Regions from separate parts of the Homo sapiens genome. Here region 1 is linked to region 2. The links are contacts of gene promoters, found by promoter capture Hi-C in human tissues and cell types (Jung and others, 2019). All regions are on one chromosome and are shown on one strand. Each heading gives the region's core, a stretch centred on a gene start or on the middle of the fragment in contact. The rest is flanking DNA. Distances are from core to core; before and after follow the strand shown. Region 1 overlaps DNAJC7 (DnaJ heat shock protein family (Hsp40) member C7). Region 2 holds the start of RARA (retinoic acid receptor alpha).

Region 1 (6,735 bases), core at 66-2,565, 1.7 Mb after region 2:
GAGAGGTCGCATGGCACTTGCATCCAACCAGCAAAGTGATGTTCAGCTTTGAGCAGAAAGTAATCAAGAGGAAAAAGTTCCTTCTGACACACAGCCACCTAAGAGGTACTGGACTGCCTTAGAAAAGACAATGTGAAGGGATCTACTTGATTACTTTGGGTTGAAACACACAAGAGAAAAATTATCAAGTGAATAAATGGGTATGAAAGAGCTTTGAAACCTATAGTGCCATAAACATGCAGGACTAGCTACAATCCAGAATAGAGGTGGGATTAGTGAGCCACTAAAAGGATCAAGTTCAACGTGGCAGCTGCTGGCAAATCCCTCCACTAAGACCAATCAATGAGAGATGCAGGTAAATGAGACAGAAAAGGGAACTCTAAACACAGGTTTGCTTCTATTTCAGTAGCACAAAAGAAAGGAGGGGCCCTTGGCCCAAGATCGGAGGAATCAAGCTTGACAGGATGATTGCGAGATCTTTTTTTTTTTTTTTTTTTTTTGAGATGGAGTCTCGCTCTGTTGCCCAGACTGCAGTGCAGTGGTGTGATCTCGGATCACTGCAAGCTCCGCCTCCTGGGTTCACGCCATTCTCCTGCCTCAGCCTCCAGAGTAGCTGGGACTACAGGCGCCCGCCACCTCGCCCAGCTAATTTTTTATTTTTTTTTTTAGTAGAGACAGGGTTTCACCGTGTTAGCCAGGATGGTCTCCATCTCCTGACCTCGTGATCCGCCTGCCTTGACCTCCCAGAGTGTTGGGATTATAGGCGTGAGCCACCGCACCCGGCCGACTGCCAGATCTTTTAAGTGTCTCTTCCACAGAAGCAAGTGGCATTTTCCATGCCCAGATAAAATCACTGGCACCAGGGCTGGCCTACCAATTGAAGACTGTGGTAGGAGTTCCAGAGACAGCCACTGTCAGCTGGGGAATGGGAAGTGATCATGCAGTACAGCTAGCTGCTGTACAACAGAGATTCAATTTCTTACCTGCTACCACACAAGCCCATTTTCTTTCTTTTTTTTTTTTGACACAGAGTCTCACTCTGTAGCCCAGGCTGGAGTGTAATGGCACGATCTCTGCTCACTGCAACCTCCGCCTCCCAGGTTTCAAGTGATTCTCCTGCCTCAGCCTCCTGAGTAGCTGGGATTACAGGCATGTGCCACCACACCTGGCTAATTTTTTGTATTTTTAGTAGAGATGGGGTTTCACCATGTTGGCCAGGCTGGTCTCGATCTCCTGACCTGAACCGATCTGCCCGCCTCGGCCTCCCAAAGTGCTGGGATTATAGGCGTGAGCCACTGCGCCTGGCATAAGCCCATTTTCACAAACATCACAGATCCCCACCAGCTTGGAGGCCAGGGCAGGAGAGTGCTACCAATGTGGCTGGCAAAAGAGAAGCCCAACATCTTGGGCATCTTTGATTTTCTGGCATCATTTTGATTTATGACTTTAAAAAAACCAATGGCCTGCAAATACAGGACATAAATATTATATTAGGAGTTCAGAATCAATGTACAGAATAAAATGTAATAATTTGAAGTAAGAGAAATGATACTTTGATACTGCACTCCAGCCTGGGTGACAGAGCTGGATCCTGAATTAAAAAAAAAAAAAAAAGGAAAATTGATAGCTGATAGCCCTGGGTATAGAATGATGTGACAAATGATTAACCCTGATGAACTTTCTTTAGGTCTATATGTAATGTATTAAACAAACTATACTAATTTGCATTTTTACTTCATGCTTTTTAAAATTCAGGGATATCCTCACATTTTAATTTTGTTTTAAAGTTGAAGTAGAAAAGTAAATAGGGCTTTAAGGAGAAAGGGTGAACTCTAGCTCATGATGGCATGTGTAGCAAAGATGTGGGTGGGTGGCATCTCCCCAGCTTTAGGGGTAAGTTGAGGCAGACTGCAGCAGTAGTCAGGCCAGATGTAAGGGTTTGGCCCGAGCTAATCTCCAGTACTTCTTGTCAATTCCAGCTGCTTCAGGAGATTGTTGCCAAATATTCAGCCAGCTGAACAGGGCATGCTGTCTCCCCTGTAGTGATCTCAGAGGCAGAGCCACTCCAAGAAGGGCAGTTCTGTTTCTACCACAAAGATAAGAAGTTGTCTGATCAAAGCAATTCCTTATTTTCATTTCTTGCACATAAACAAAGAAGAAAATAATCCTTCATCCAATTATCCTCCGAGCAAATCAAGAATTTTCTATGGTGTTGGGGGCTTGCTTAAAAAAAAAAAAAAAAAAAAAAAAAAAAAAAAGGCCGGGCGCGGTGGCTCACACCTGCTGGTAATTCCAGAACTTTGGGAGGCCAAGACAGGCAGATCACTTGTCATCAGGAGTTTGAGAACAGCCTGGCCAACATGATGAAACCCCATCTCCAATAAAAATACAAAAATTTGCTGGGTGTGGTGACATGCGCCGGTAATCTCAGCTACTTCGGAGGCTGAAGCAGGAAATTCGCTTGAACTCAGGAGGTGGAGGTTGCAGTGAGCCAGTACGGTGCTACTGCACTCCAGCCTGAGCGACATAGCGAGACTCCATCCCGAGCGACATAGCGAGACTCCATCCCAAAAAATAAAACAAAGCGATTTTTCTCTTCTCTTCCCATCCCCTGGCATTCCATATACAGAGCATTCCATTAAGTTCATACAGTATCAAGTATCTAGCCACCCCCTTCCCACTGGACATGTAGGTGATTCTCCCCCCGCCTTTTTTTTTTTTTTTTTTTGCTATTATAGATAAAATTGCAGCAAACACCTTCATGTATATAGCATTTTGCGTCTGTTAAAGTCAGTCTTTGGCTGAATCAAAGGGTGCTTTTTTTGTCTTCCAAAGCTTCTGCTTCTGTGTGCCAGTGGTTTGCAAAGATGGAATGACTGACAGTCAGTCTCACAGAAGTTATAATTCCCTGTATGTTTCTGTTGGACAGACTTAGTCATCAACTTAGAAATTCACTTTTAAAAAAAGCATCACACACAGCAGCAGTTTTCCTATTTTAAGTGAGATAATTTTGAGAAAACTAAGTGGGAGGTAGTCCATGAGATATTCTGTACCACTGATGAGACAAGGAAGCTTAAACTACTGGCTCATCAGGCATCAGTGACAGCATCTGTTCTTTGGATATGACATTTTATAATAAGGAGTGGAGCAGGTGCTGGAGGATTAGTATACAATAAATACATCTTCTCTAAGAACTTTAAAGACGGGAAGTTTTTCTCCGCCTAGAGAATAATCTGAAATCAGAAGAGATGGATTTCTGAGAAAGATTTCTCCTAGCCCTGTTCCTATCTGGAGAAAACCAGCTGGTGGGTCTAAGAGTAAGAGGAGCAACCATGCCAGGGAGCACCCTGACTCTGGGGCAAATGTGAGCATTAGAGGTAGGCACATCCTGGCTCATAATCACCCTGTCAGACACAGAGTGCCCTCCACTCAAAACACTCAAGCAGAGAGTAGCCATCCAGGGTGTTTCAAAAGGAAGTTCCTTTATCCTGGGAGGCTGAGCCGGATTACATCTCTTCCAACTCTAAGATTGTCTTCCCTCGCCCAGAACAAACAGGATGAAGTACAACTCTCAACTGTCTCCAAGAGTTGTTTTCTCTTCCAAGCACCATACATTCATTCAACAAAACATTTATTCAGTGAGCACCTATGTGTCAAGCACTGTGCCAGGGTAGAGCATAAGTGTACAACACAAAATAAAATCTCCAAAGGAAATGGATTTAAACTTTTTAACAAAAGGAATTTGGGTCAGGCATCAGAGGAAACTTACTGACCGTGAGGGGCGTTAGACACAGGCATGGGAGACTGAGGGAGCTTGTGCAATCTCCTCCGCTGGAGGTCTATAAAGATAGTCTAGGGCTGGAACAATCCCACCTAGAGGCAGGGGGAAGGACCAAATGACCTCACAACATCTCTGGGTCTGCTTCGTCATCCACAAGGCAATTCCCCTGAGGCCAGCGGCAACTCCCTCTTCCCCCTACCCATCAGAGGCACTTACCACTGAGCTCTTCTCAAGTAGGCTTTTATGTAAGTGTCATCAAGCTTCACTGCATTTGTGCAGTCTTCTATTGCATCATCTAGTTTCCTAAGCTTCAGGAGAGAGAGAGCAATCATACTTCACACCTTTGGTGACTGAGGGAGCCCAGAAGCTGTGAGCATGGCTTCAAAACTCTAAGAGGATCAGTCATGCTGGCCCCTTAAATGTCATATTAAGTTCTAGTTCTTTGTCACCAGGGCTATGGACAGCAACTTCAAAATTGATTTCTCTTGTATATGATACAAGCCAGGCACATCTGTCTTCAAGGATAAACTACCTTTACCATTCCATGTTAGTGCCCAATGAAAACATGAAAATAGTAAGGCTGGTTCCTGCCCTCCTTTTTTCCAGAGGTCACCTGCAGGGATCAGAAATCACTCTGATTTTTAACTGCTAGAATTCTGCAAGGGCAAGGAGTCTACTTTTTGTTTCTGATGTTGGGTAGGGCCACAAAAGCACTCAGGCCATTTTCAACCATGCATGGTGACCATCAATTACACTGGAGAAAAACAAGCTTGCCTCATACTCTTCCTCCAAATCACTCCTAAAAAATAAATGATCACTTGCATAAGCAAAACAACAAAAAAGCAACAGTAGGTGCTTAAGATTATCCCACAGACCCTAGCCATTCTCTTACTGGAGGAAAGGGACCTTAATGAACAGGTGAGAATATCCTTGCAAATTGTCCAACTGCCCTCAAATTCCATAGAGATGACAAAAGCTTGCCTCTTGGAAGGGAGTTCCTAACAAACTATTAACCATAACAACTTTCCCTCTTTCATCTTGCTTACCCTCACTAGGCAGATTTCCCAAGACCCTTTGATGTCCCTTAAAAATATTTCTATAGGCCCCAAGATCTAGATCAAGAGCTTACCTTGGAATTAACCGTACCCCGATTACAGTAGAGTTTAGCATTTGTTTTTATATTGTTGGGGTCTATCCCCAGGGCTTCTGTGTACAGTTCATATGCTAGTTTGTAATTTCCTTCCTTAAATGCTTTATTCCCATCTTCTTTCTTTGCTTTGAGTGCTTTGGCATTCTACAGAAAAAAGCAAGGGGAGGATCGGTTCATATCCACAAAGCCTCAGACCATTGCACAGAGAGGCCAGACTCTATTTTCAAGTTCTTTGCTTCCAGCAGTTCAGCATCACAGAGCCCCGCCAACCCCCAATCTGGGCTATCTGTTGCTCATTTGAGCTTCCTACAGAGTGGACAGGAAAAGAGTTACCAAAAATACCAATGAGACCTATGTTACTGGGTCTGCCTTCACTTCTCAGGACAAGTATTACTATCTATCTTCACTGAGGGGAAAAACAAAACAAAAAAACCCTCTTAGATATTAAAGGCATCCGACCCTATATGATCACATCTACCTTTAGGTAAATACAAGTAGTCCTGAAACCATTTCTAATAAAGACCAAGCATCCTTGCAAAGCAGGAGGAAAAGCTATCACATTCCTTGTGATTCTAAAACCTTCCACTCTAGCCATCTTAAAGGTCCCAAAAGGAAGCTCTTTCCCAGTTAGGTCTGGTGACTAGAACTTACTCTGCAGGCAATGCAGGCCTTCTCGTGGTCAGGAGCCATCCTGAGAGCCTGTACGAAAAACTGAACTGCCTTCTCAATACAATCTTCGTAATAAAGGCAAAGACCTCGTACATACAGAGCATCTGCATTGGTGGAATCCATTCGTAGAATGTCACTGCAATAGTCAGAAAAGGGCACATTGAGCTGTGCTTTAGAATGTCCCCACCATTACTACCATTTGTGGCCAGTTTTCCTCCTTGACCATGTGTCTAGCATTCAAAATATCCAAAGGTAGACAGATTCCCAAGAACTGTTCCCAAACTTTCCCCAAATAAACCACCTATAATTATCTTTAATACACATCTTGTGTCTTACAATCCTTATTAAACTAGAACAGGGTTTGGCAAACTACAGCCCACAGGGCCAAATCCTTTCTGCCACTGGTTTTTGTAAATAAAACACTATTCAAACAGCCACACCCATTGGTTCATCTATTATCTAGGGCAACCTTTGCACTGCAATGGCAGAGTTGAGTTAGTTGCAACAGAGACCCTGTGGCCTGCAAAGGCTAAAATCTGGCCCTTTGCAGAAAGTGTGCCAACCAGTGGAGTAGAAGGAAAAGGACTACCTTAAACAAACAAACAAAACCACAAAAACACAATCTGTTCTTTCATATATAGCTCAAGTACCTGCTATACTACTATACTCCTGTATACCCTACGGGTTTTCAAAGCTGGTCTAATCTTTGACTTTAAGTCCCAAGAGGGTCTGATCAGCCCTAGCTGGCCTACTCTGGGGACCATATCCTGTGGTGAAGCTGCCGGACACCATCAGTCCAATGGTATCTGGCATTTTAATGTCCAGCTAGCCTGACTGCATACCTAGCCACAGACTGTGCTTCTGGATAACGACCCAGCATTGCTAAACATTCTGCCTTGAGGATTTTGAAGCGATGGCAGGCAGGGGCAAATTCTAGGGCACGGTCCATGCAGAAAACAACCTGTAGGGAAGAAGAAAACAAATAAGGCTCTTCATCAGGGACTCCAGAAACATCTTCACTTTAGTTTAGTCACAGGTAACAGACTCAAAACTCAATGAGGTCTTTGGGTCCACTTCTAAGTAATATCAAAGTTTAAAAACATACCTAATTCATTAAATAAAAGCACTGAAATGA
Region 2 (6,820 bases), core at 2,075-4,574:
ATAATATACATATTATATATTATATACATATTATTTATATATATATATATATATATTTTTTTTTTAGATGGTGTCTTGCTCTGTCACCCAGGCTGGAGCAGTGGCGCGATCTCTGTTCACTGCAAGCTCCGCCTCCCGGGTTCACACCATTCTCCTGCCTCATCCTGAGTAGCTGGGATTACAGGCACCCGCCACCATGCCCGGCTAATTTTTTTGTATTTTTAGTAAAGATGGGGTTTCACTGTGTTAGCCAGGATGATCTCGATCTCTTGACCTCGTGATCCGCCCGCCTCGGCCTCCCAAAGTGCTGGGATTAGAGGCTTGAGCCACCATGCCTGGCCGGTTATATATTTTTTAAATATCTTGAGACGTGTTACCTTGACTGCTGAGGGAGGACAAAAGAGATCCAAGATTGAAATTTTATTTACATTTGTATCTGTGCCTAGCAATTAGTATAGTGCCTAATACCTGGTAGGTACTCAATAGTTGTTTAACAGATAAGTGAACCAAATAAGATACTGCCTTTCCCTCAGTGGTGAGAACAGTTCTAAGCTGAAGGTAAACGTTGGTGGTACTTTTGCACAGAGGTGGAGCAGGCCCCTGCATAAGAAGGGTGCTCTGTCTTACAAAATGTGTCTTGGCACAGTTTTGGAGCATTTATTAGCCTCACAGATGCATTCCAATCACTCCCTCTGATGTAGTGGCATTTTGCTTGAGGCAACTTCCATGTTGCTGGTGGGACGCTTTGGCTATGAGGGGAAGAGTCTTATCTACAGGCTGTGAAGAGGGCTGCCTGTCTGGATGTCACTCAGTGTGGCTAGATTGGCCAGAAGCTGGGTCTGTAGGCAAGGGTTTAGGGAGGAGCCCACCTTTGATGTCCCTCTTTTTAACTTGGGGCAAGTTGTGATCTCAGGTTCTTCCTGAAAAGATAAGGTACTTTCTAAGATACCTTCTCTTAAGCTACAAACAGTGCAGGTCTTCCTCTTAGAAGAGGTGTGTTCCGTAAGGGGAGAAGGTGTGCCCTCTGGCCTCCCCTTGATTTTCAACCCCAGCCCCAAGGCACTGGTAGTGGAAGTTAATTGGGTGCAAGGGGCTTGGGTAAAGGCTGAAGACTGGTGAAAGGAGAGAGCCAGCTTCGTTTTTTAAAAAGCTCTAATTGAGTTCTGAATCAGCCTCACTCCCTTTGATCCCTCCTCTGTTTCCCACACTGCCTGAAAGAGCTAGATCAGCACTTTATAACAAGGGTGCGCCTGCTCCCCGCACCGCCCCCCGCTCCTGACGCTCTCTGCTGCCGCCATCCACTGCTTGTCTCCTTCAGTTAAGATAATGAAGATGCTGAGAGATAAAATGTGTATTTAATAAGGGTGGGGGTAGGGAGGCGGAAAGGGGCAACCAGGGCCTTCCCTAGTTTGGGGCCTCGCCAAGACTTAAGCTGAAAGCAAAGCTAGAGTAAGACTTGGCCCCAGGGTGTGGGGGTTTCTGGGCCTCAATCCAGCTGACTTCACTGCCTGCTGTTTGCCCTAAATTCCCCCACCTCCACCCTCTCACCCCCACACTGCTTTCTTCTTGCTCCCAATGGGAAAAAGGACTCTTGCTTCAACTTTCTTTTCAGCTGGTAACTTGGCCTTTGGTGCGGTGCCCCCCACCCCAGTGTCAGCTGCAAGGTCGGGCTAGGGCAGCCCCCTCTAGCCTAGGCCTGTAGAAGCTGTGGGTTCACAGTGGGGGGTGAAAAAGCTGGAGTTAATGAAGACCAGCTGCTAGTCTGGGTTCTGCCTACAGCTAGCTGGAGGCCAGCCTTTGGTGGTGGTTGATGGGGGGGTGGGGTGACCTCCATCCATGGGCACAAGGATATCCTGTGGCAGCTAGGCTTGTGCTTCTCTCTGAGCTTAGTTTTATCCTTAGTTTATAAGAGAGTATCTGTTTCCTTCCCCTACTCCTCTCCTCCCCAAATAACACTCAGCTCTTATTGAACTTTATAACTGTAGTGGTGGCCCAGCTGAGATCTGAGGATCTCCAAACCCTTTTGTAAACACTCATTAACTGCCTGGGAAGAACGAAGAGCCCTGTTTAACAGCTGGGAGAGAACTGAGGCACATTAGGGTGAAAGGTTTGACCTAAACTCACCCCATGGACTCCACCCTGGGGCCTTCCATCCTTAGTCCAGCTCCTTTACTCAGTTCTTCCTGCAAGACAGAGGTGGAGGCATTGCTGGTGTCTTCTCCCCTTCTAGGGAGAGGCCATGCCCTCTCCCCTCAAGTCTGTCGCTGACTTCCTCTGGCCCTTCCCCTCATGACGTTTTCCCTGCTCTGCTGCTAGAGATATGTGCAACTCTCCTTGCAAAATGTTCTCAATCCACAACTTCAGAATTCTTATCCAGCTTTCTCTTGCCCATCTAGCCCACCAAACCTGAATTCTCCCTTTTGAGCTACTGAGAAGACTGGCTATACTAAACTGAATCAGTGACCTTGAAGTTGATCTGTTGTATTGAGGTCCCTCTGCCCCTATATTTATCCTAAATGGTATCTAGGAAAATATTCTCTCTTTAACTTGTTTATTCTGGTCATAAAGATTCGGGACATTACTGAGGGCTGGGTAGGGGCACTAGTTGACCTCTAGGTTCTACGTCCTGTTCTTCCACTGACAATTACCATTTCCAGTAATAGGTGTAACCCAAAGTTCTTTTTTGTTTTTTTCTCCTTCCCTAACCCCACCTGTTTATACTCTTGCCTATATATGTGTATTTGCAGACCCCACACATTCCCAGATACACATACATTGGTCCTACATGTTTCCCCTGTTTCCAGCTGCCATCTAAGTGAGCCTGCACTTTTTACATGCTGAAAATCTTTTTTCACCCTCTATGGCCTCCTAGGTCCTTGGGAATAATTGGGAGGGATGAAGGGACTCCTGCAGTCCATGAGGAAGAGGACAGAAGTGAGCGCCCAACCAAAATGAATGCTCCCTTTCCAAAATCTCTAGCTGAATGCCTTAGCAGGAGTGGCAGGGAAAGAGATCTTAACCCCACCTCCAGCACCAAAACCTAAATCCATCTGCTCAGGGCAGGCAGGAAGAAATGTCTATTTTCTCCTGTTTCAGGTCATCCTATCCTCGAGTTATCCATATGCTGTGTATTTGAGACAGGGAACTGTTCCTGTCCCCAGCCGATGACCAGACGCCCATCTTTCTTCCAGTGGGTTACTTCTCCCCCATCAGTCCTTCGCTCTGCGCCCGCTGACCCAGTCGGGGCTGGCTGGTGGAAGAGGGCGGGGAGAGCCTTCTAGTTGGCGAGTGGGCTTTAGGACCCAACGGGAACCCGTGCCTCTTGCAGCAGCCTAACCCAGAAGCAGGGGGGAATCCTGAATCGAGCTGAGAGGGCTTCCCCGGTTCTCCTGGGAACCCCATCGGCCCCCTGCCAGCACACACCTGAGCAGGTAGGACCATGCACACCCCTTCCCAATTCTTTGGCCGCCTTTGACCCCGGCCTCTGCTTCTGATCTAGCCATTTCCTTCTCGCCAGTTCTGGCTTTCCCCATCCCTCCTCTCCCGTCGCTCACTGTAGTCCTGGGAGGTGGGAGCCTGGGAACAGTGGGGTGTCTGAAAGCTCAGAGCCCTCTGCACCCTCCAGCACCCTTCCTGCATTTCTCCTGAGGCAGTTCCCGTTCTCTAGATAAGAGTGGGGAGTAGGGGGAAGGTCTGCCCAGGCCCCACGCCCTTGCACCCTCCTTTGCGGTATTGCCTAATACCCCTTCCCCCACCTCACCTAGACTGGAGAATTGGCAAGTGCTGAGGTAACAGAGAGAGGAGAGAGCCAGAGAGGGACCTGAGCTTTCCCAAGGGATTTCTTTCTTGCTTCCTCACCCAAAGAGCTCAGGACTTTGCCCCTACTCCCTACACACCTTGTAGGGGAACTAATGTCCCCTTCCAGGTTCATCTCACACTTGGGTGGCTAAAGGCTTTGCTAGAGGGTAGTGGAGGTTGTGAGCATTTTGGTGAGCTTTTCCTCTAGGAAAGTTCTTTCAGCTTAGAGCCCCCATCCATGTCAACATTTCAACACCTGCTGCAGAAGCCCCCCGACCCCACCTGTGTGTGTGTGTGTGTAGGGACAATGTGGTTGTAAGATCTAGAAGCTTTGGATAGAGGTGGCTGCATGCATTGAAGGGGAGGGATACCAGAGTGTGGCCCAGGCCAGAACAGGCTCAGTCCAGATGGCTAGGGAAGGGGGTGTGGACCAGATTGAGGAGGTCACCCAGCCTTGCCAGCTCCCTGAGCTTCTTGGCTTTCAGAATCTCAGGCTCCTGGTGTTTCTCTAGAGCTACAAGGTCCCCAAGCTTCTGCCCCGCTACAGGCTCTCTGGGAGAGGGCTAGATGGCACCTACTGTTTACAGTGGCTTATTTTTCTCTCCTGTGGTGGGCAGACAGGCCCTGCTCTCTGAAGATCTAGGGCGTGTCATTCTGGTTTGGTGGGTTTACAGGAAGGGTGTACACCTTGTCTGACTTACCATGTGTGAGTGTGTGTCTTGCTTCTGGGGGTAGTAGACTGGGGAGGGGGGTGATAGAAGAGACTGGTCACACTGAGGGAACTCCTCTAGCAATCAATGTATGATAGGAATGGGTGGCATGTCCCCATCTGGTAGCTCTGTCTAGGTGTGGGGTGTGCTCTGCATTCTTCCATGGCTCCCCGGGTCCCCTAAAGGTTGGTTTTAGAGGACAGGGTGGATAATGAATTGGCTTCAGACTTCGTTCTGGTCTTGATCCAACAAGGAAAGTAGAGATTCTGACTGTGAGCAGTGAACTAGGAATCAGAGGCCTGAACTGGAGACTTAGACTGGTTACTTAACTATATGTGTTTATATAGGTCTTCCCCTTTGCTAAGCCTTAGTTTCTCCATTTGTAAAAATGGCTATCAGTAGCAAGCAGGGACATTGCCACTAAAACCACAGAGACAATGTATCGTAAAGCTCACTGCAAACGGTAGTAATGGCTGGGGGAATCTAGGATGGAATCCTCTTCCTAAATCTAGGTCAATCTCTCCGCCTTTAGTTTTCTTCCCCCATCCTTTGCCCATCTGGGGGATGGAGGAACTAGGCAGGGCTATTGCCCCGGTTACTGCAGAATTCCCCTAATGCAGGTTGTAGCTGTTACCAGAGCACCTGTGGTCACAGAGTACAGATCTCTCCACCAGGCATTTCTTCCTCTGGGGCCCCATACTTGCTCCCCTGAGCCATGTCTCCACCTTCCTTCTGCCATCCCTGCTTGGCGTCCTTGTCTCTCTCTCCCCTGCCCAGTGGCCTCCTTGTCTGGCTCACTGGGCAGGAGCCCTAATCGGATTCGACAGCTGAGATATGTGTGGCGGCTAAGAGCAGGCAGGAGGGAAGCCAGTGGGAGGATGGTATGAGGACTGCCCCTGGCACTGCCCCGGCCTCCCAAGCACCACCTTGGGCCTGCTGATTTCTTACTTGGCTTGGCCCCAAGGAAGGGGTGCCAGAGGAAGCTCAGGAATGAACAGGCTGGGGTCTGGAGACTAGGAGAGGAGGAAACACACCAAGGTCCTCAGGACCTGGTTGATATTCGATGACCTTAATGTCAGTGTCACTGACTCTGACAAGGAGGAAAGGACAGCGATGAGCCAGGCTGACCCCCGCCACCCCATTCCCATAGCCCCACTTTCTTCTCTCTTCTTGTTCAGAAATGTTTCACTTTGCCTCATCTAGCCCCTTTGGCCAGTAGGTCACATCTGGGAGCTTCTGGGGGTGCCACATGTCTGCCTCAATCTGGGCTGTTTCCTCCCCTCCAAGATATTTCACTGTCTCTGGGCTGGGCGCCAGGACTCCTGGGTTTCCCTGCCTGTGGTGCAGGGCTCCCCTGCAGGGCTCCAGAGAGTCGCTTAGCTGGTTTCCTTCCTCCTTTGTGGGGAGGGCCTTCCCCTAGGGCTGGGAGGTGTCAGGAATCCCAGGTGGGACAGGGGTGGGGGCACAGTAGCCTCTGGCACTGTAGCACCCCAGCTTCTCCCTCCTAGCCTCTGACTCAGCTTGGGGGCAGCACATGCCCAGCCTGGCAGGCATGGCCTATTCTTGCCTCCAGGCTTCTCTCTTTACAGAAGCCTACATCTCCTGCTCTCATTTTTTAGTTTTTTTCCCCATGATATCTGCAGGTGGCTAGTGAAATCCCTGGTTTTGGGGAGCAAGGGACTAACATAATTGAGGCTGGGGCACTATTTTGTCTTCCCTCCAGTTGGGCCAGGATGAAGGAGACTGTCACAAACTTCCCCAAGCCAATTCCTTCTGCCCTCAAAAGACCAGTCAGTGGAGCCAGGCCCTGCCCTTTGGGTGCCCACAATGTGGTTGGCACTGATTTGTCAGAAATTGGGAAGGTTTCCCTCTAGACCGCTTGCCTCCTTTCTCCTCCTCCCGCAGGGTAGGGGCAGCTCTGTGATTGCAGGCACTTATGGGCAGGCCTCCCCCTAGGAAAGGGGTGTGGGATGCCCCCAGGATGGCCAAGTTGGCGCTAGCCCCAGGCTGGAGTGCTGGACATGATTCTGACCTGGGAGTTAGTGGGGGTAAGGCAGGGCATGGGCCTCCCTGCCCCCCTCATTTCCTGCTCTTTGGGCAGCTGTGGGCGAGAAAGGCTGCAGGGACTATTTTTAGTTGGTCAGTCCCCTGGCAGGAGGGACGTGCAGAAAAGCACGGGGCAGGCAGAGGGGCTGGCCAAGGTGAGGGTAAGCAGGCAGGCAGAGGAGTGAGGAAGGGCCAGAGGGGCAGAAGACAGCAAGGAGGCATGGGGAGCAGGGGCAGGACCTTACCCAGAGGGGCATGACCCAGGT

Evidence for each region. The method cuts DNA at HindIII sites, captures the fragments that hold promoters and counts their contacts. A contact is called where the count stands out against the background at its distance.
Region 1: a contact is called between a fragment that was not itself captured here and the fragment with the promoter of RARA in region 2, in 1 of the 25 tissues and cell types used here (bladder).

What each region holds. Positions count from the first base shown.
Region 1 is chr17:41,983,822-41,990,556 of GRCh38, forward strand. It overlaps DNAJC7 (DnaJ heat shock protein family (Hsp40) member C7), which reads right to left. Exons shown (of 14, transcript NM_003315.4): 6 at 6,443-6,561; 7 at 5,583-5,736; 8 at 4,911-5,075; 9 at 3,998-4,089. Among named protein-coding and RNA genes, the nearest start is that of CNP, 20 kb to the left of the region's middle. RefSeq lists enhancers at 4,123-4,623, 4,624-5,124. The HindIII fragment of the contact is 3,275 bases long and covers 1-2,953 here.
Region 2 is chr17:40,305,856-40,312,675 of GRCh38, forward strand. RARA (retinoic acid receptor alpha) reads left to right here and starts at 3,325. Exons shown (of 9, transcript NM_000964.4): 1 at 3,325-3,431. RefSeq lists enhancers at 2,752-3,637, 3,017-3,186, 3,197-3,326, 3,638-4,521, 6,111-6,611. The HindIII fragment of the contact is 8,948 bases long and covers 1-6,820 here.